7 separate regions of the Homo sapiens genome follow, and regions 1, 2, 3, 4, 5 and 7 are each linked to region 6. The links are contacts of gene promoters, found by promoter capture Hi-C in human tissues and cell types (Jung and others, 2019). All regions are on one chromosome and are shown on one strand. The core of a region is centred on a gene start or on the middle of the fragment in contact, and the rest is flanking DNA. Distances in the headings are between cores, read along the strand shown. Region 1 overlaps SNX29 (sorting nexin 29). Region 2 has its middle 6.8 kb from the start of SNX29-AS3. Region 3 overlaps SHISA9 (shisa family member 9). Region 4 overlaps SNX29 (sorting nexin 29). Region 5 overlaps SNX29-AS3 (SNX29 antisense RNA 3). Region 6 holds the start of SHISA9 (shisa family member 9). Region 7 overlaps SHISA9 (shisa family member 9).

Region 1 (2,700 bases), core at 25-2,524, 340 kb after region 6:
GCACGATCCACCACACCCAATCAAGGAGGATTTTACAAAGATATTACAAACTCCCAAAATACAGCATCGTTGCCAAACCACAACCTTTTACCGGTGCAACTCCTCAACTCCCTACCCTGGGGGAAGAGGGTGCTGCAGGGGCAGAGGGAACCTTATCTGAAAAGCCCTTCCTCGTCTTTCTTGAACAAGATCAGCGTCTAGGTATTGTAGGTCTTCGGCTGCCTGCTCCAGAGACGGCAGAGGCCCAAGGGGCTAGAGATGGGGAGAGATGGCTATTCAGCAGGGATATTTACAGGCAGCCTGAATAAATAAAAAGCAGCAAATGGGTGGGTGTTGCAGTCTTCAGACAGGTCGGCAGACAAGGGTGGAGAAGTTGTGGCTGTTGGGTAAAGAATGACAGTGCCATCTCTGGCTTTCCTCATGTTCCTCTTACATGAGGCCAGACCCCATCATGGGCTCTCGGGGAATTGAAAAGACTCAGTTCCTACCTTCTGGGGCCAGGACAGTCTCGTCTGTGAGATGTGGTGATACAGACATGGAGGCCTAAGCCACCACCCAAAGGGGTGGGGTAGACCCCTCAGGTAGTGGTGGGAGACAACTCAATTTTTCACATGCGGGGAGGAGTCTCCCCGTTTTAATAGCCCTATTCCTTGAGCCTTTTACCCTATTAGGTTTCCTAAATTTACCTGCAAAGGACATACCGCAAGGAACAAAATCCAGTCGCCATCTATTTTCATGGTTACGGGTAAAATATCAACGTGGCGATAAAAGACAGGCTCAGGATAATGGCCACTCCTCGACGGTGACTCTCTCCAGTCACAAAGCAGACTTTCCGAGCTGTGGATCCAGAACCCGACGTTCCTCTGCTACCTGGGCGGGGTCAGTGATGATGGGGAGGCCACTTTCAGGGTATGAGCCTCAATCCCAGCATGTTGACTGTGGGAAGTGACATCCCTGAGCCCAGAGTTGCCCCCCCTGGAGCTGGGATGAGGACGTGTGGCGACCTTTCCTAGGCTCTGTTGTTAGCGTGCGTCTTCTATGTAACATTCTGGATTTCTCTTCCAGTACCTACATTTCGAGGTGACCTTGGCCCTTGCAATGATGTAAACACGGTTTGAAAGGCGCATTGAAGCAGTTTTTCTTACGCATCAGCCCTCACCCCTTGTGTTGGGTGAATGTTTGCTTCTTACTATGCAGGTTTTTGGCAACATGGACGAATCTCAAGCACATCGTCAAATTCCCAAAACTAGAAATGACAAAGCACAGACCGGGAGCTGTCGGGTTGCCTATAGGGGAATGCTAGGAAATTTGGGGGGAAAGGAGTTGTTCCACATCTTGATGGTGATGGCTAAAGGACTCCAAGCCTTTGTGAAAACTCAAGGAACTATGCCATAAAAGCGAGAAACAGTACCACGGTAGGCTTCAATCTCGACTCCAAAGAAGGCAGTGCCTGTAAATCTAGACTTTCCCGACATAAAACAGCCCCTCAGGGAAGACCCTGATAGCCTGTAGCTCTCAAGAGCCAGCGACCTTTGTCCCCGTCTCTGGGTAAAAACTAGGGACCACGGGGACAGTGTCTTAGATGACTCCTGGCTGTGTCATTCACCAGCAGGTGTACTTGGGCTGCTCACGATGCTCCTTTCTAGGACTCGAGTTCCTAGCCTATGAAGGGGGATCAAAGTCAAACTAGCAAGCTGTGTGCACTTTAAGTGGGTAAATTGTATGGTATGTGATCTGTCTCTTGAGCTGTTTTAAAAAATGGTGCAAGCAAAAATAAAGGGGGAAATCACAGAATCTGCCCTGCAGGTTCTTGGGACAAAGCCAACGATAACGTTTGATGCTGGGATAGAGCGTGGCCCATGGGGATGCTGCTTAGTGAATGCCCTCGCCCTTCACTTCTGAACTTGGCCACCTCCAGCAGGGTTCACTCCTCTGTGAACCCTATGCTCAGGTCAGACCTCAATCTTACTCCACAGACCTGGTATTGCCAGAGCCATTTTGGGGTCACACAGGAGAGTGAACGGCCTTAGAAATGCGGTTCAAACTACTGGGCAGAAAACACGGGAAGGAAAACGGCACAGATGATTCCATCCCTAAATCCATGAGGGGCCAGGCCTCCTGGGTTGCAGGGTCCATTGTCACCAAGCTGGTAGACACTCTGGGGACATCATGCCCCCAGGGATGCACCTGGCTCTAAGCTCACCTGGAAGGCAACTGGAGAAGGAACTCCTGGGATGCCACGGTCACCTAGGAGACAGCCCATAAGTCCCCAGGGCACTGCCTCCCCTCCCCTGCAGGGAGAAGGATGTAAGCTGCGGTAATGAGCCCCCTGCCAGGCCACGCGTGGTCCTGACATGTGCTTTGGTGTTCATTTCAGAAACTCCATCTCCATCCTCCCTGCTGCTAGCAACTTAACACAGCACTGGGGAGTTGGGGAAAAGGGGGTCTGTGTGTGAGGGCACCCTCAGAGGGCCCCAGGAGTGGCTGTTCTTTTTAATAAGCCTCTTGGGGTACACTGCGTTGTGTCCTGTCACCAGCATGCGGCTGACATTAATCGGACAGCCTCAACTGCTCATCAGTGAAAATGGCTGCGAGGAGAGACTAACTTTTCACTTTGTTTCACCTGTGATCTGGGTCTGGCGAGCCGGTCAATACTCCACTTACTAGGAGCTGCCTTTGAAGCTTAGAGGGCTGGATCCC
Region 2 (2,700 bases), core at 130-2,629, 280 kb after region 6:
GCACTTAGGAGTGGAGCATGCCCAGTGTGCTTACTGAAGCTGTGCACAAGCCCACTTGAGGTGTTCTTCTCTTACCAGTCGAGTGTTTAAAACTCTGCTATTTTGCCTCTCTGCATGTTTGAGCCCACTTGCCCAGCTCCTGAGATCTTACTGGTAAGCTGTTGATGACCAGTTTAGGGTGTCTTTTTTTTTTTTTTTTTTTTTTTTTTTTTTTTTTTCTTGAGACGAATTCTTGCTCTGTTTCCCAGGCTGGAGTGCAGTGGCACAATCTCAGCTCACCTCAACCTCTGCCTCCTGGGTTCAAGCGAGTCTCCTGCCTCAGCTTCCCGAGTAGTTGGGACTACAGGAGTTCATCACCATGCCTGGCTAATTTTTGTATTTATAGCAGAGACGGGGTTTCACTATGTTGGCCAAGCTGGTCTCAAACCCTTGATCTCATGATCCACCCACCTCGGCCTCCCAAACTGGGATTACAGGCATGAGCAACTGTGCTCGCCCTCAGGTGTGTCTATCTGTTGTAAGCCTGCCTTTCCCTGGCACTGGCTGAGACCAATTATTTCAGACCATTAACAACTGCCAGAACATGACCTGGTAGTGCCCTGGCATTCCTGGTGGTGGTGGGGGGATGGGGGCTGCTGCTTCCCTGCTCATGTCTGACTAGCTACCCACTGTACCATGACCACCTACCATGATTCTAGGACTCAGTCTCCTTCCCCCTTCCCTGGGGCAGATCTTGTTCAGTTTCATGTGCACTTTCCCAGGCCTTTCCTATGCGTTAACATCTATGCTTTCAGCAACTGTTAGGTATAAACTGTATCATGTACATATCATTCAGCAACTTGGTTTTTTCGCTGCTTGCAGCTCAGCTGTATCAGTATACTCGGAGAAATTTTCTAACTGCTTGGTTTATTATGGTCCAAATATATAAAAGTTTACACAACCATCCTATCAATTGGACGCGATCTGGGTGGTTTCCTGTTGTTTTTCTTTACTACACACAGCTCAGGCCCCTGGCCAGGCCATCTTGATGTTTGGGTAAATGCTTTTCAAGCGGAGATACTGATGGTGGCTCCATCTTGGGGCATGCACATATTTCTTTGTCAAAATTTTCTCCAAAACGGTTATAGGAATTGGACCACAAGTGAGGTGTGAGAACACCTGATCATATTTAAGCTTTTGGTGATTTAATAGCTAGAAATACTTCATTAACCTATAGCCCCCTGATTGCTGATGAGGTGAACATCTTTTCATATGGTCAGTGAGTGCATTTTCTGTGAATTGCTTATTTATATCCACTTTTTGATTAGTATCTCATTTTCTTGGGAAATGGGGAGGCCTTGGGGAGAGAAGCCTATTTTCTTGACCAGTTTCAGCCAATGTAAAAAACAAAAGGGGTGTTCTCTAAAGCACATACATTGTAGATTGGCAGTCAGCAAACTCTGGCAACAGGAAACCGGTTGTGTGGAGGACAGTTTTTCCACAGATGGGGTTGGTGGGAGGGGAGGACAGTTTGGGAGATGGTTCAGGCACCTTACATTTCTCGTGTACTTTAAAATTATGACATAATAATGAAACTACACAACTCACCATAATGTAGAATCAGTGGGAGCCCTGACCTTGTTTTCCTGAAACTAGACGGCCCCATCTGGAGGTGGGAGGTGGGAGACAGTGACAGATCATTTGGCATTAGTTACCTTGTCAGAAGGAGCACGCAATCTAGATCCCTCACACGCGCAGTTCACAATAGGGGTTCATTCTCCTGTGAGAATCTAATGCTGCCACTGATGGACAGGCAGAGCTCAGGTGGTGATGTGACCAATGGGAAGAAGCTGTAAATACAGACGCTTTGTTCGCCAGCTGCTTACCTTCTGCTGTGTCACCTGCTCCTAATGGGCCACGAACGTTTCTTGGTCTGTGGCCTGGGGTTTGGGGACCCTTGTCATTAACAATTTGCTGTAAGTTACAAATACCTTCTGGAATGTTGGTGTTACTTTGTTCATATTTTTGTCATGCAGAACCTCAACACTTCACTGTGGTCATCAGTCATTTCTTCTATAGTTTTTGAAAAACTTATTTGTAAGTCTAATAGTGCAAGGTCTATAAATTGTATTTCATTATTCAAATAGTTCGAGGATTTGCTAAAGTTCACTTTTGTGTGTGACAAGTGTTCCAATGTACTGTTTTTCTGGATGCACAGGCAGTTGTTTTAAGACTGAGTCTTGCTCTGCTCATGTGAAAATACCCGCTTTAACCTCTGTCAAACCTTTGTCTCTACTTGGGTGTTGATTCTTTGGTTTATGTATTCCTGCCCTGGTTTCATAGAGCTTTGTAATATGATTCTTGTTTGTAGTGGTCAAAGTTTCCCTTTATTTTTCCCTTCCCAAAACTGCCCTAGCTCTTCTGCGTTTCAGAATAAGTTGGTCAAATTCTACAAAGAATTGACATACGGAACAAGGGTTGTGATGCATTACGTTCATAAAATTTGGGAAGAATTGACTGACAGTCTTTGAGGGTGATACAAGTCTGTCATTTAGTGAAAATTTAGTTTTATATAGATCGTTTAAAATAAGATTTAGCTTTGCGGCTATTGTTTCTAAAAAGCTTTGTGTTGTATATTTGACTTGTTCGTTTTTACGTTGATACAGTATGGGACTACCCTGCTCAAAGTAAATGTCAGTTTCCTGACCATTTTCTAGCTTG
Region 3 (2,700 bases), core at 190-2,689, 330 kb before region 6:
GTAGTGCTGGGGGCGAGTTCCCAAGGGGTCGCTGGAGCCTGTCTCGGCCGTGCCAAGCTTGCCCTTGTTGCTGTAAGCCTGCCGCCGGAGGGACTGCTCGTTGGGGTCCCAGCCCTTAAAGTTGGTGGTAGAGGTGTAGGCCAGGGGATGTGGGGGCATCTTGTTGGTGCGGGACTTCTGTCCATTCTGCTTGGCAGGACCGTGCTCAGGGCTGAAGGCCCGGGGCTCGTCCTCCACTCTTACGGGGTGCAGAGGTAAGTTCCCCTTGGCAGCCAGCTCAGCCAGGTGCCGTCGCTTGGTGTAGAAGTCGTCATTGACCTTGTCAGCTACACATCGGAACGGGTGGATGAAGAAGGGGAAGAAAGAGAAGAGAGAGAGAGAGAGAGAGAGAGAGAGAGTTAGAGACTGGCATGTCAACCCAAGAACAGCATAAAAATGGGCCAACAGTCCAAACAAGACACACTAGAAACTCCACCTAGAACAAGACAGAGGGAAGGGCAGCACCATGCCCTTTTCACAAACAAAGAGCAGGACCAAGAGGATTAAAGGCATCCCCAAGGGAACCTCTAGACCTCCGAAATAAACACTTCTCCCCCCACAGTCCCACCTACCATTCTGCCATCGTTGGTTTGCCTATGAAATTCGCGTGTTGTTTCTTTTTTATTAAAATGATACATTTTCATTAGAGAAAAGAGTGAACATGTTAAGTGATCTTCCTATCTATGACCTACCAATCAAGACAGCCGATAACAACTTTTGGGTGTATTTTCTTCTGGTATTTTTAATAAACAGAGTTTAATTTGGGATTTTTCTCCGCTGGTTTGTTTGCTTTTGTTTTTGCTTTTAGCAGTTAAACCAGACCTGTATTCACATTTCAACTGTGACACCTGCCAGCAGCTTAACCTTGACTAAATTACTTAACATTTGTCAGCATCAGCTTCTCCATAAGGAAAGCCATTACAATAAAAAAGTATACTTCATAGGTCTGTTTGGAGAGTTAAATGATATGATCTGTGTAAAGTGCTTAGATATTATCTACCACCATTATCATCGTCATTATAAATAAGTTTGTTTCTATTTCTCAAGTAATGTTCTATCAAGCATTTCTTCATGTTGTTATAAATTATTAATAAACAGGATTTTCATGTGTACCTAGTATTTCATTGAGTGGAACTATCAAAATTAATTAATTCCCCTATTAATGAGTGTTCTAATTGTGCCAATATTTTGCTATTACAAATACAGTTGTATGTAATAGCAACTTTTCACTTAAACCTCTCTTTATATTTAGAATTTTGAATTTAGCATAATTCTAAAAATGTTTTCTTATTTATTTATTTATTATTATTTTTTCAGACAGGATCTTACTCTGCTGCCCAGGCTGGAGTGCAGTGGCACAATCATAGCTCACTGCAGCCTCTACCTCCTAGGTTCAGATGATTCTCCTGAGTAGCTGGGACCACAGGCAAGCATCACCACACTAGGCTAATTTTTGTATTTTTTTGTTTGTAGAAATGAGGTTTCACCATGTTGCCCAGGCTGGTCTTGAACTCCGGGGCTCAAGCAATCCTCCCACCTTGGCCTCCCAAAGTGCTTGGGATTACAGGTGTGAGCTACCGCACCAGGCCTGTTTTCTTAATTTACATCAGGGATTGGCAAACTATAGCCCACGGGGCCAAATCTGGCCACATCCTGATTTTGTAAACAAGGTTTTATTGGACACAAAACCATGCCCATTCATTTATATATTATCCATAGCTGCTTTTGTTCTGCTGTGGTAGAATTGAGTGCTGGTTGAAACTCAGCTGACAGAAACCGTGAGACCTGAAGAGCCTGAGATATTTACTACCCAGTCCTTCTTTAAAAAGTTTGCTGACCTTTGATTTGGATTATAAAAAGTAGAATTATTTGGCCAAAGAGTATAAACATTGTTAAGGCTCTTGATACATATTGCCAACTATTCTACAAAAGAGTTTTACCAATTTCCACTCAATTTAACTACACTCTCTCCAGCATTGAAGGATTCCTTCCTTCCTTCCTTCCTTCTTCCTCTCTCTCTTCCTCCCTCCCTCTCTTCCTTCATTTTTACTTCTCTTTCTCGTTCTTTCTTTTGAGGACTAAGCTCTGATTTTTTCTTATCTTGCCCAGATTTCTATCTAAGGGGTCTGGGAGTCATATCCTACAAACCATAAATTCTCATCAGATGGGTTTTATTTAACGCTATATATCGTGACTTACTTTCCTATCTGACTCTGACACAACATTACATGACAAAGAAGAAAGTCAAAATATTTTACCCCAAAACATGTTTTTTTGTCGTTCTTTGAAATGGCCCTGCAAAAAAAAAGTTTTTTTGTGGGGTAAAACCTACATGTGTAAATAAGCTCTATTAACATAGCTAGATTTTTTCTTCCAGGCCCTCCCAATCGTAAAGAGATTAACTGAGAGTCTAGCACCTTTTAAAAGTCTAAATAGGAAACATTTGTCTTCTATTGTCTCTAAGGGCTGCCACTATAAGACTTCAAAAGAACCTTGGTCTCCACAATCTTTTATCTTCACCTGAACATTCCCTTTCTATTGATCCCAGGTCTTTAGACTCAACCAATTGTCAACCAGGAAATGTTTACATTTACCTATAGCCTTGAAGCTCCCCACTCACCATCCCCTTCGAATTGTCCCATTTTTCTGGACCAAACTTAT
Region 4 (2,700 bases), core at 122-2,621, 360 kb after region 6:
TAAAATCGGCCTCTTCAGAATGAGATAGGGTAGAGAAAGAGAAACGTCCAAATCCCACCAGCTGACATAATGTTTTAGCAGAACCACCTCACAACGCCTTCCACTCCCCAGCATCACTTCTCCTTTCCAACAGTACTGACTTTTCCTGCCTCATGACTTTGGGGTCCACCTTCCCCTGTGGCCTGGATGCCGTACTGAGAGTGTAAAGTCCTGAGTTGCAATCTGGGTAAGTTAGTTTCAATCTTGGTGTGGTGAGGAACCGGCTGTCACGGTTCTGAAGCCTTGGCTGATGTGCACACCACCGATTCCCATCCCGTGTTCTTAGGAATGATGCCGGTGAATATAGGGTTATGGACTTGTTTTCCTTAACAGCCTTCCACAACCAAGTCTGCAGAAAGACCTCTACCCCTACCAATGTGATTCCTGTGGCTTTGCAATGTGATGAGTCAACGGGGTCTAGAGTCCAGGGCTTTTGCATTTAACCCATGGTGTGACCTTGGCTGAGACCATTTCTCCCAGCAGATAGGCTCCTCGCTTAGAACGAGAGGGTGCCGGATTCCACCTTCGGCAATCCAGGATGAAGGAATACGCAAGCTCTTGTAGTGTGGTAAGAGGATGTTCCACCACTGGCTTCTCTCTTCCAAATACGAAGGTGTCCCTGTCTCATGGGCTGGGAGAAATCTCTAGAGCACCAGATACATCTTGGAAAATAAACTTGGAAAATCTCCCCCAGTCAACTCCACTGCAATGCCAAAATTCATTAATTCCCGTGGTTAATATTTTCTGATACGACTGGCTTGTTGAATGCAGGCTGGAAGAGCGTCTGGAGACAGACGGCACCAGCTGCGGAGCACTGGGGCACTGCCCACTCCATCGGGGAGGATGAACTGGGACGCACCACGGAAGCGTGATCTCGTGGCTCAGTGGGCGTGGAAGTCTGGGCCAAAGGTGTCACAAGCTTCTTACACAATGACTCGCCAGCACAGGTGGCTGTGGCTTTACTGACAGCTGTTCACCAGACCCCGCAGCATGAACATATGTTTGCCCACCCACTTTCTCTCCTTTCAGTGAATCGGGCCCCCTCCTTCTGGATAATCATGTTCAGTCCATGAGCTTAGGTGGGCTGAACACCCTGCTCCTCTGCCCCAGATTTGGCTAATCAAGGTGCTCCATTCCCCGGGCCACAGGCACGGACCCAGATGCATGCGCTGATGACCCAGAGCTGCATCATTCAGAATCTCTAGAATTTCCGCTACAGCTATCAGGAGCAACGTGATGAATATGATTTTTCCTAGGACTTCTACAGGAGCTGATGAGAACACTTATGCTTCAGGGCCTGGATCTAAACCATCTATAAGATACGCAGCTGCCAGGATCCATCTTTCCACCAGACAGAACATGCTTGAGGGTGAAACCAACAGGGTCCTGGTGACACTTTTTGAGCCTCTGGATCCAGCCATTCCTGAAGCTAGCCAAGTCCCTGGACTTCATAGTTACAGGAGTAGTAAGTACTTCTTTTCTGCTTCAAGCTAATTTGAAGTAGGGCTCTATAGTTTTGCTAAGCAAAGATTCCCTACTCAAATCATGTTTCTGGGACCTCTAGAGACTCAGACATTTAGCATTTCTGAGTACTGCTCATGGGTCCACACACCTTACAGGATGCTTTAACTTCACTTACTTGCTGATTTAACTAATACTTTGTTTAAAAAAAAAAAAAAGGCAGTGATAGTCTAGTGCTTATATGCACAAGATTTAAGAGTAAAAGACTGGGACCAACACCAGCCTGGCCCCAAAGTCCATGTTCCCAACACGCTGCCTTCAAACACAAGTTTAAGTGTTAGACCCACACTGGGTGCCGTGGCTCACGCCTGTAATCCCAGCACTTTGGGAGGCTGAGGCGGGTGGATCACTTGAGGTCAGGAGTTCAAGATCAGCCTGGCCAACGTGGTGAAACCCTGCCTCTCCTAAAAATACAAAAATGAGCCAGGTGTGGTAGTGGGTCCCTGTAATCCCAGCTACTTGGGAAGCTGAGGAAACAAAATTGAACTTGGGAGGCGAAGGCTGTAGTGAGGGGAGACTGTGCCACTGTACTCCACCCTGGGTGATAGAACTTGGGTCTAACTTTTTCTTTTGAGACAATCTCTTGCTCTAACAGCAGCTCTAAAACTTACTAGCTGTGATCTTGGGCAAGTTCCTCCATTTCTCCATGCCTCAATTTCCTCATCTATAAAGGGAATAACACTAGGTCCTATCCCTCTGAGTTGCAGATTCCTTGACACCCTGTGTGGAAAAGGCTTAGCACAGGGCCTGACACCCAGCAGGAGCCCAGGTAGCGTGGGCTGAATTGGAAATGCTGGCTCAATTTAGGGATCCGTTGGGAAGAGACAATATTGCAGGATTTGGACTAACTGGTGACTAGGAATATCTTTGCCAAACTAATTAAAAAAAGAAAAAACAGAGCGGTGCTGCAAACGTGAGCCCTTCTGGACTCATAAGACAAGCCAAGTCTCTGAAGTGGATCCAGCGTCCTCTTGTGTGGGCCCAGGATGTACCGTGGGCAATCAGTGGAAAACATCTGTTGCATCATCATAAACATTCATCAAGCATTGACTGGTTTCCAGGCATGTGCTACAAAGCTGGGAGAAGAGGGGAAGAGGCGAGCTTGGTTCCTGCCCTCTGAACCTTTCCATTCCAGGGGGT
Region 5 (2,700 bases), core at 36-2,535, 300 kb after region 6:
CCTGAGCATTGCTCACACCTGCTGGGCTCATTGTGCTCACCTGGCTAAGCAGGCTGCACTTGGCTCATGCCACTGGCCCAGAACCCCATACCTTCCAAGGGTGAGCCAGGCACGAAGTGACGACGGGTGTGTGGGTGACAAGCGTGGGGCCTGGCTGCTGTGTATGGCCAGGTGTGCTGGGTGCTACAACAGGGCAGGCAGCTCTGGGTACTGGCACAGGTGCTGACTCTGCAAGGCTGACTGGACCAGACGTACCACATGTGGCTGTTTCTGTGGGTACCCTTGTCTGAACAAGGGGTATGTGCTGGCAGCTGGAAGCTTGGAGATGCCAGGAACTCCTGATCCCCAAAGAGGGTGTTACAGTCCTGGCTTGGGGAGCCCCCTAGATCTGGGTTCCCTGGAGGACTGCAACTCTTTCCTTCTCAATACATGCAATGTGGCAAGTTAGTGTGTGTGGGTGTGTTTCAGCCCTGTTTGTTACAGCTCTTTCAGTCCCACCATTTGGCGGGTCCCAAGTACTTGTCCTCCTTCCTAGAAGAATGAGGTACACGGACAACTGGAGGGTGAGCAAGGTAGAGAAGAGCTTCACTGAGTGACGGAACAGCTCTCAGGAGGCTTGCGGAGGGTAGCTTCTTCCCAAAGGCAGGTTGTCCTGATGACTGTCCAGCTTTCACCAGAGAGGAGACCCGAAGTGGGTAACTCCTTCCTGTAGCTGGTAGTCCCGACTTGTGTTAGTCTGGCTGAGTCTGGGGTTGTTAGAGGCTCAGAAGAAAGGAAGTACATGCTGATTGGTCCATGAGTGGGCCCAGTGAAAGCAGTATAAGTTCTCACTCCACCTGGAACAGACAGCCCGGGCTTCAGGCCATCCCTGGCTTTGAAGGTGAGGTTTCACCAGGGACCTACCCCTTTCTGTCCAGAAACGTGTCTGCCTCCCGCCATCAACATGCTGTCCACAGCACCCAGGCTGTTTGGGCCTAGGGATTCTTGCAGGCCCATGCTGAGCTGCCCTCAGCCACCCCGACCTCCCTCCCACACTTAGTGCCACCCAAAGTCCAGAGGGGGCCAAGGTAGTGGTTGGGGGTGGTGGTGTATATGCTGGTGTTTGAATCCTGCCCGAAGCACATGTACCCCCCAGGTGGGTTACTAAAGTGTCTAGGCTTGGCCACAACTTTGCTTTGAAATTGAAGTGGGCACCGGATCCAGGGACAGGCCAGGGAAGTGGGAACAGGCACTTCGGAGCCTGCGGTAGGAGGGGAGGCTTCCCAGCCCCCTGAGAGCACAGGGATGCCCGGGTCCAGAACCACAGCCGGGTGGCTGCAGTTGTGCCCAGGAGGGTGGGGCTCATGCATGTTCCCAGGTCTTGCTGGCTCTGAATTGCGCAGCCCTGGCCATGCTGCCGCCTCTGCAACTGGCATCCTGCAGTAGCTGCTCCACATGGGCTGCCCTTGCCATTGCCATGACCCACGATGTGTCCCATGACAGGAGGAGATGGATGCTTGCACGGGGCCATTTCTCTGCCTACTATAACGTATTAGGTTTTGACATTTTTGCCAGCCTGGTATTTCTAAAATGACAAATCACTGTGGTCTTAATTTGCATTCATTGGAGGCATGTTTTTTGTATAAGGAACAGTAGTGACTTTGGGGCTTAGAAACTGATAAGCATTAACACGCTCTTAAGTGTTATTGATGTTGGTATTTGGACTTTCACCAAGGATCGCTAGCTTTGGGAGTTGGCTACCCTGAGTGTGAGTGTGGCTCACTCTAGTTGTGTGGCCTTGCTCTGGGTGTCAATTCCCACCTAACATGGTAGCTCTAAAATGTGTTAGCCACCTGTCCTTGTGAGTAACAGATGCTCAAAAAAATGACTTCTACTGAAACCAGGGAAGATGAGCAGGATCAAGGTGGTATCTGCTATGTGAGGAGGAGGACAGAGGCTTCCTGAACTGTGAAGGTACTGAGTCTGAGAACCCCAGAAAACAAAGGCCAACCTGCATCTCCAGGCCTTCCCTTACCTTGACTATTTCCATTGCAATGGGATGAAGTTCCCCAATTTTCAGAGCCTGACTGTTTAGGCAATATGCACATTATCTACACAGCAGCCAACACTTAGCCAAAGGCAGATTCTTCATTGTCCAAACAGGATTCTTATTTGAGGTATAAGAAGTTTGCTCACTAAAGCTGAGCTCTGTGGGTAAGACCTTGTGATGCTTTCGGGGAGTGGAAGGAAGAGTTATGATTGCTTTTCTTAATACCTCAGATGGAAATCCTGGACCTCTTTAAGGCTGCCATGTGCAGTTGAACAGGTTGCACACAATTCCAGGATGTCCTCTGATGGAGCCTGTAGGAGTTGAAGCCTGACCGGTGCCCCACTCGCCAAGCCTGTGAAGCTAAGTGTAGGACTGCATCTGTCTAGGAGAATAAATACTTTGGTGATTTGTGCAGAGGCAACTTAAGAATTAACAGCAACTTTGTTCCTGGTGATATTCAACTGAAGGACTCTTTATGGATTGGGGACAGTGAGAGGTGGATTGTTCCGGATTGCCACCAGAAACCTAGAAATCAAGCTTGGGTCATGTCTACACAACAGCTTGTAACGCACCGTGGGTCTTACTTTTGGGCCCTATGTGGTGATGGACAGACGCTGATGGACAGCTTCAGAATGAAGGTCTCCATTTTCTCATTCATGTTACCTAACAAA
Region 6 (2,700 bases), core at 124-2,623:
CCAAACCCGAAGATTTCGGGGCCACGGGCTCCCAGGCTACGTGTCTCAAGTCCGCCTCAGTCACCAGCGGGAGGAGGCGGCCAGAGGGTGAGGGAGCAGAGTCACACACACACACACACACGCTCACACACACACGAACACGCTCAGACCCACACCTGTGCTGAGCCCAGCGCCCCTTCTCCGTGTTCCAAGCCGAAGTTGGCTTCCCGGTGACATCCCCCAGCGGAGAGGCTGGGATGCGGGGAGCGGGGACCGTGGGGAGCGCCATTGCCTGGGGGAAGGTGGGGAGGAGAGAGCAGGGAGAGCGAAGCCCCGAGGGGAGGGCGAAGGGGAGGCAGCCCACCTGGACATGTGCTCCCTTTGGGGCCGGTGCGCTTTCTCCAGCCCCAGCTTGGTGAAGATGCCCACGAGCACCATGACGGCCACCACCCCGCAGATGATGTAGACGATCAGGTTGGTCTTGTCCTTGGTGGGGTCGTGCAAGGGGTCGTCCTTGCGGGCGGGGGGCTTGCCGGTGTTGAGCCAGAGCGGCGTGTCGTAGTTGGTGCAGGTGCTTTGGTTCAGTCGCCGCTTCTTAAACGTGCAGCAGAACCGGAAGCCACAAGTCCCGCAGCAGAAGATGAAGTCGCCCGAGCTGCAGTTGAACGGCGGGTCCCACTGGCCCATGACATCGAAGTAGCCCCGGCAGAAGTCCGGCGTGGGCGCCCGGGTCGGGGGCGCGTCCGATGCCTCAGCGCCCTCGCTGGCCTCTCCGGAGGCGGCCCCGGAGCGGTTGCCCCCCGCCAGCAGCAACACGCCGCCCAGTTGCGCCAGCTGCCCGTGTCCCGCTCGCTCCTGCGCCCGGCACACGCGGGCGCACAGCTCGGTGAGGAAGCAACCGAGGAGCAGCCGAAGGACGCGGCGCATGGTGTCTCCCAGCCCGGGCTCGGCCGCTCGGCCGCCGCTGGAGCCTCTGCGGCCGCCTCTCGAGGCGCGGCCGAAGCTGCCGAGGCTGCTGCCGGGAGCTGCGAGCCGCCGCGGGCCGCACATGCAGGGAGCGGCGCGGGGCGCTCGGTGGTCGGCGGCCACTGCGCTCGGCTCAGCCCGCGTTCGCCTCAGCCCGCGTTCGCCTCCAGCGCGCCGCGCGCCGAGGGGCCGGCCGGGGAGGAGCGCGCCCGGCCGGGCGGGGGGAGGATGAGCGGGGTCAAGCGCGGGGTGCAGGTCCGGCCGGCCACTGGGTGAGGCGGGGGTGGAGAGCAGAGGAGAATCGGGCTGGCAGCGCCTAGCCTTGGCCGGCAGCCCCGGACTGGCCGCCCCTAGCCCTCTCGCAGTATCCCTCTCACCTCACCAGCTCGCCAAGTGCGCTGAAGAGAGCGAAGCGACACTTGTGGAATGAAGGGAGGGCAGGAGGGAAGGGGGAGGGGGAGGAGGGCGGGCAGAGGAGGCGCGGGTGGGGGGGGGCGGGCGCGAGCTCTAGAGGGGCGGGGGCGCGGGGAAGAGGTGACTAGAGCGGGAGCTAGCTGGGGGGCGTGCAGAGCTGAGCCAGGCGAGCGGACGGGGAGGAGCGAGCTCGGCAGCAGCCGAGGCTAGAGGAGCCGCTCGGATTTCCAGGCAGGTGGAAAACCGCGGCAGGACCTCCCGCGCCCTCTCTGGGTAGGAGGCGCGGCTCAGCCCTGTCCAGAGCGCAGAGGCGGCTCAGCTCGTAGCTTTTTCACCGGTGCGTGTGCAGGAGCGGCGGCCGAAATCTGTGCATCAGGGGAAGGATGACTCGGAGAGGATGGGGACAGACTAAATGGCTTTCACTCCAAGACAGACTGGGTGCAGTCTGGTCAGGATCGCCCCTCCCAGGCGTGCGGGGCCTCCTTGCCCTTCCCGGCTGCGCCCTCCAGCCCTGAGCGCAACCCGCATGGCTCAACTCTCTGGGCCCAAGCAAGGACCCAGGCGGAGCTGGGAAGGACAGGTGGCAAGCCCCTGAGCCAGGGATAAGCACCCTCCGGGGGAGAGGGGCTCGGGATGAACGAATCAAAGAAGGTCGGGGGTAAGAGGGGACAGCCGAACAAGGCCGAGGCTATGGCGTGTCCTGGAAGGTCTTTCCTTGGAAGTCCCCCAGCCTCTCGAACCTGCCGCTTTCTGTCCCTCTTCGCCCCCGCAGCGTTTTCTGCGCTCCACAGGAGGGAACACCGCGGCGCCGCCTCTGCGCTCCCGGATCTGGCGCAGCGCAAGGCCTGGGCACCCAGCCTCAGCCACCCTCCCGGACCTGGAGCCCGCGCATCGGTCTCTGGAGCTGGCTGGCCCCTGTCCCCACGGATCCCCCCGGAAATCCTCACCGGGGGCTGCAGAGCTCTGCCTTGCTTCCTCAGCTTCCAGCCTCCCGTCTCCTCTGTGTTTCCAAATCTGCCCTCTCTCTCCTAGCGAATTCCAGCTCCCCGGAGGCCCTCTCTCATTTCTCCCACCTCTTTCTCTCCTCTGCTTGAATTTGACTCCAGTAGCCCCAAAACAGGATTTGCACCAAAGCTGCTACACCAAATTTAGATCTCCCCACGCCCCGGCGTTTTGTTTTTTAATTGCATTAACTAAGTATACACTTTGCAGGCTGCTAGGCGATTTGCAAGGAGATAATGTTTCCACAACCCTCCTCTCCACTTGGCTGCAGTCAAGGGCTTCTCAGGGCATCTTCAGAGAACGAAAAGTTGGGCGACATGTAAAATGGTTTACTAGGGT
Region 7 (2,700 bases), core at 121-2,620, 310 kb before region 6:
ACACCCTAGTGGAAAATAGCTTAGAATAAGGGTCAGACTGATAGAGGTTCAAACTGCAGATCTACCACTGAATAGTCACATGACTCTAGACCAGCAAGACTTATCCATACTTAGACATCATGTCCTCATTTCTAAATGCAGATGACAATGCCTACACAGCCTGATCATCATAGAATTAAATGATAAAATGATGTAAAGGGCCAGTCCTCTGGCACATAGTAGGGCGCTAATTAATGATAGCTGCCACCTGGTCTGGTCACCCAGCTGGGTTAACTCACAGACTCAAGTCGACCAACTTCCTAACCCTCTCTGCTCACCACGCTGTCCCAGGAAAGTTGAAAATAGCATTCTGTTCTCTAAAAGGCTAGTCATTCCCAAGACCCTTGGCCAATAACTTGATTATGTTTTTCTCTCCCTCAGAAGCTGTGTTCTTCCCCCGCCCCGCCCCCATTAATTAACCTTGTGTTTTGCCATTTGCCATTGCAGCTTTCTGAGAAAAATCAACATATTTCACCTTACCTGGCATGATTTCTCATAGTGATATTTTCCATCAGGCAGCAAATATTGGGAAGTGAGGGCTACCACGTTGTCCAACAATTGCTAGATGCACACACACACACACAAACACACAAACACCTACACACTGGAACTTAGACGGACTTGCAGATGCCACCCTATGCAGACACACATGTGCACAGGTCACACAGACACCAGGACTCTCTATCCCTTCATTATTTAATGCTAACTTTGACAACACCTGGACAAAAGAGCTAGAAAAAGCTGTACAGTACCTTTTGGTGACTTAAGTGTCGATACTGCCCAGTCACCATCAGAACTTCCTAAAAAAATAACAATCAAGAAATGCTGATGATCTGTTTGCAGGGCACCCATGTTCACTATGCCCTCACACCCAGGTGCTGTTGGCTGCCCCTGCTGCAGCCTCCAAGCAGGGACAGGCCTCAGGGGACCCAGGGAACAGGGAAGGGAGCCACGTGTGAAAATGCAGCTATGTGTGTACCTCTTTCTGCAAGGCCTTGAAGCAGCCTCACGTTAACACCCAACAGAAGATCAAAAGAAGCCTCCTGAAAAAGGCCGAGATATTTTCAGTTACGTAAGGCAGAAAGATAATTCTTAGGTAGAAAATCTGGCTGTAAATTTCAACCTGCTTAGAAAGAAAGGAAAGTTTGAGTTATATGAGCTCACCTTGGCTCAAGACTACACTCTGATGACAAGAGATAGACTTTGATCGTGTTCCACTGCAATCCCCCTCCTGAAAAGGGGCACATTATTAGCCCCAGATTCAAGGTTGGGACAGGCTCTACTGACTGCGACTTTAAATGCTGGGTGACAGGCCCCATGGGGTGGGGGCTACCTTACCACAGTACCTAACACACATTCTGTGTTTGGAAAATATGACTGAATGAAGGAATGCATTCAATTTTATCCACAGAGTCACCCTTTCTAAGGTAGGGAAATTCTAAACGGTAACGAGATCAAGCTTGTTATCTGAGAATCCCATAATGAGTAATACATTGCTTTACAGAACAGGTGTGTGCCTGGAGTTTTCATTATAAATCAGTTTATCCGAATTGAATTCCCTTTCAGATGTCCCGAATGAGCCCTGGGAGATCTAACATTATTAACAGAATTCCATAATGACTCCTTTCATAAAATGAAGGATACTGAGAATTGGCCAAGGCTATACCCAACCCAACCCCCACCAACCTCGCATTTTCTTTGATAGTTCTCTGTAAGATTGGGTTTTGCTTAAAGTGGGGCAACCCTACCCACGAGACCTCTCCTCATTGGCTGGAGACCTGGCCAATCAGCGTGTGGTCCTAGCTCTTTCCTTTCTTAGGCATCTACCTAGAAAGACCAAGTCCTCAACAGTTTGGCACTATTTCCAGAGATATATCAGGCTGAGTGAAGGCGCAGGGAACAGTCTGTCATCTGAATGATTACAGAGCACAGATCCGGCCCCATTTAAACATTTCTGGCTGGCCTCCCCAGGCGTGCCAAAGGATGCTCAAATCGCCACATCCCCCCCGTGGATCTGAACTGTACACCCCTCATCACTCACAAGAGGGACAATTGGAGCAACAGAAGAGAGAAGAGTGAGGAAGTTAAAACTGAGTCGGGCCCACCCAGGATGACTCGGTTCTCTTCTCCCCCATAGCCAGGGTCATCTGGAAATAGTGGTGCGACCCCCATTCTTCCTGTGTGGATGGCCACACGCTGACCAAGCCAACAAGTCGCTGACTCCAGGGAAGCCATCTGAACCCCAAATTAAATCCATTGCTGTTTGCCTTGAAGGCAGGAACCATTATTTTGTCACCTCTGTTCCCATTAGCTCAGATAGGGCTTAGCTATTACAATAATGAATTTTCATTTATAAGTTCATTGACAATAGGGCATTTAATAAGATGATGTATAGGCTACGGAACATTTAGTTAAGGCTCCACTGTGTACTTGGTCACACTCATGGACATTAGAAAAATACTTTGAGGGTGAAAAATGCTCATGAAGAGGAAGTAGACCTAAGGTATTAAAAGGAAGGAGATATGAGGGAACTTTCAGTGTGACGAAAATATTTCTCATTTTTATTGGGATGTGGATAACCAAGTGTATGCTTTTTTTTTAAACAATCACACTATTGTAAAATTATGAACTGTGTATGTCACTGTATGTAAAATATACCTC

The links. Contacts are between HindIII fragments. The study calls those that stand out against the background at their distance.
Region 1: a contact is called between a fragment that was not itself captured here and the fragment with the promoter of SHISA9 in region 6, in 1 of the 25 tissues and cell types used here (spleen).
Region 2: a contact is called between a fragment that was not itself captured here and the fragment with the promoter of SHISA9 in region 6, in 2 of the 25 tissues and cell types used here (bladder and dorsolateral prefrontal cortex).
Region 3: a fragment that was not itself captured here is called in contact with the fragment with the promoter of SHISA9 in region 6 in 1 of the 25 tissues and cell types used here (H1 embryonic stem cells).
Region 4: a contact is called between a fragment that was not itself captured here and the fragment with the promoter of SHISA9 in region 6, in 2 of the 25 tissues and cell types used here (dorsolateral prefrontal cortex and hippocampus).
Region 5: a contact is called between a fragment that was not itself captured here and the fragment with the promoter of SHISA9 in region 6, in 2 of the 25 tissues and cell types used here (mesendoderm cells and thymus).
Region 7: a fragment that was not itself captured here is called in contact with the fragment with the promoter of SHISA9 in region 6 in 5 of the 25 tissues and cell types used here (H1 embryonic stem cells, bladder, liver and 2 more).

What each region holds. Positions count from the first base shown.
Region 1 is chr16:12,561,429-12,564,128 of GRCh38, reverse strand. The region is part of intron 20 of SNX29 (sorting nexin 29); the gene reads right to left. The region is part of intron 2 of SNX29-AS3 (SNX29 antisense RNA 3); the gene reads left to right. Among named protein-coding and RNA genes, the nearest start is that of SNX29-AS3, 48 kb to the left of the region's middle. The HindIII fragment of the contact is 4,016 bases long and covers 1-2,700 here.
Region 2 is chr16:12,616,630-12,619,329 of GRCh38, reverse strand. No RefSeq gene overlaps it. Among named protein-coding and RNA genes, the nearest start is that of SNX29-AS3, 6.8 kb to the right of the region's middle. The HindIII fragment of the contact is 3,028 bases long and covers 1-2,700 here.
Region 3 is chr16:13,232,656-13,235,355 of GRCh38, reverse strand. SHISA9 (shisa family member 9) reads right to left here. Exons shown (of 5, transcript NM_001145204.3): 5 at 1-326. Among named protein-coding and RNA genes, the nearest start is that of SHISA9, 330 kb to the right of the region's middle. The HindIII fragment of the contact is 4,795 bases long and covers 1-2,700 here.
Region 4 is chr16:12,541,778-12,544,477 of GRCh38, reverse strand. All of the region lies in intron 20 of SNX29 (sorting nexin 29), which reads right to left. It also overlaps a transcript of SNX29-AS3 not described here. Among named protein-coding and RNA genes, the nearest start is that of SNX29-AS3, 68 kb to the left of the region's middle. The HindIII fragment of the contact is 6,327 bases long and covers 1-2,700 here.
Region 5 is chr16:12,598,967-12,601,666 of GRCh38, reverse strand. The region is part of intron 1 of SNX29-AS3 (SNX29 antisense RNA 3); the gene reads left to right. Among named protein-coding and RNA genes, the nearest start is that of SNX29-AS3, 11 kb to the left of the region's middle. The HindIII fragment of the contact is 6,215 bases long and covers 1-2,700 here.
Region 6 is chr16:12,900,271-12,902,970 of GRCh38, reverse strand. SHISA9 (shisa family member 9) reads right to left here and starts at 1,373. Exons shown (of 5, transcript NM_001145204.3): 1 at 344-1,373. The coding sequence starts at 906. The HindIII fragment of the contact is 6,671 bases long and covers 1-2,700 here.
Region 7 is chr16:13,211,392-13,214,091 of GRCh38, reverse strand. It overlaps SHISA9 (shisa family member 9), which reads right to left. Exons shown (of 5, transcript NM_001145204.3): 4 at 792-839. Among named protein-coding and RNA genes, the nearest start is that of SHISA9, 310 kb to the right of the region's middle. The HindIII fragment of the contact is 6,661 bases long and covers 1-2,700 here.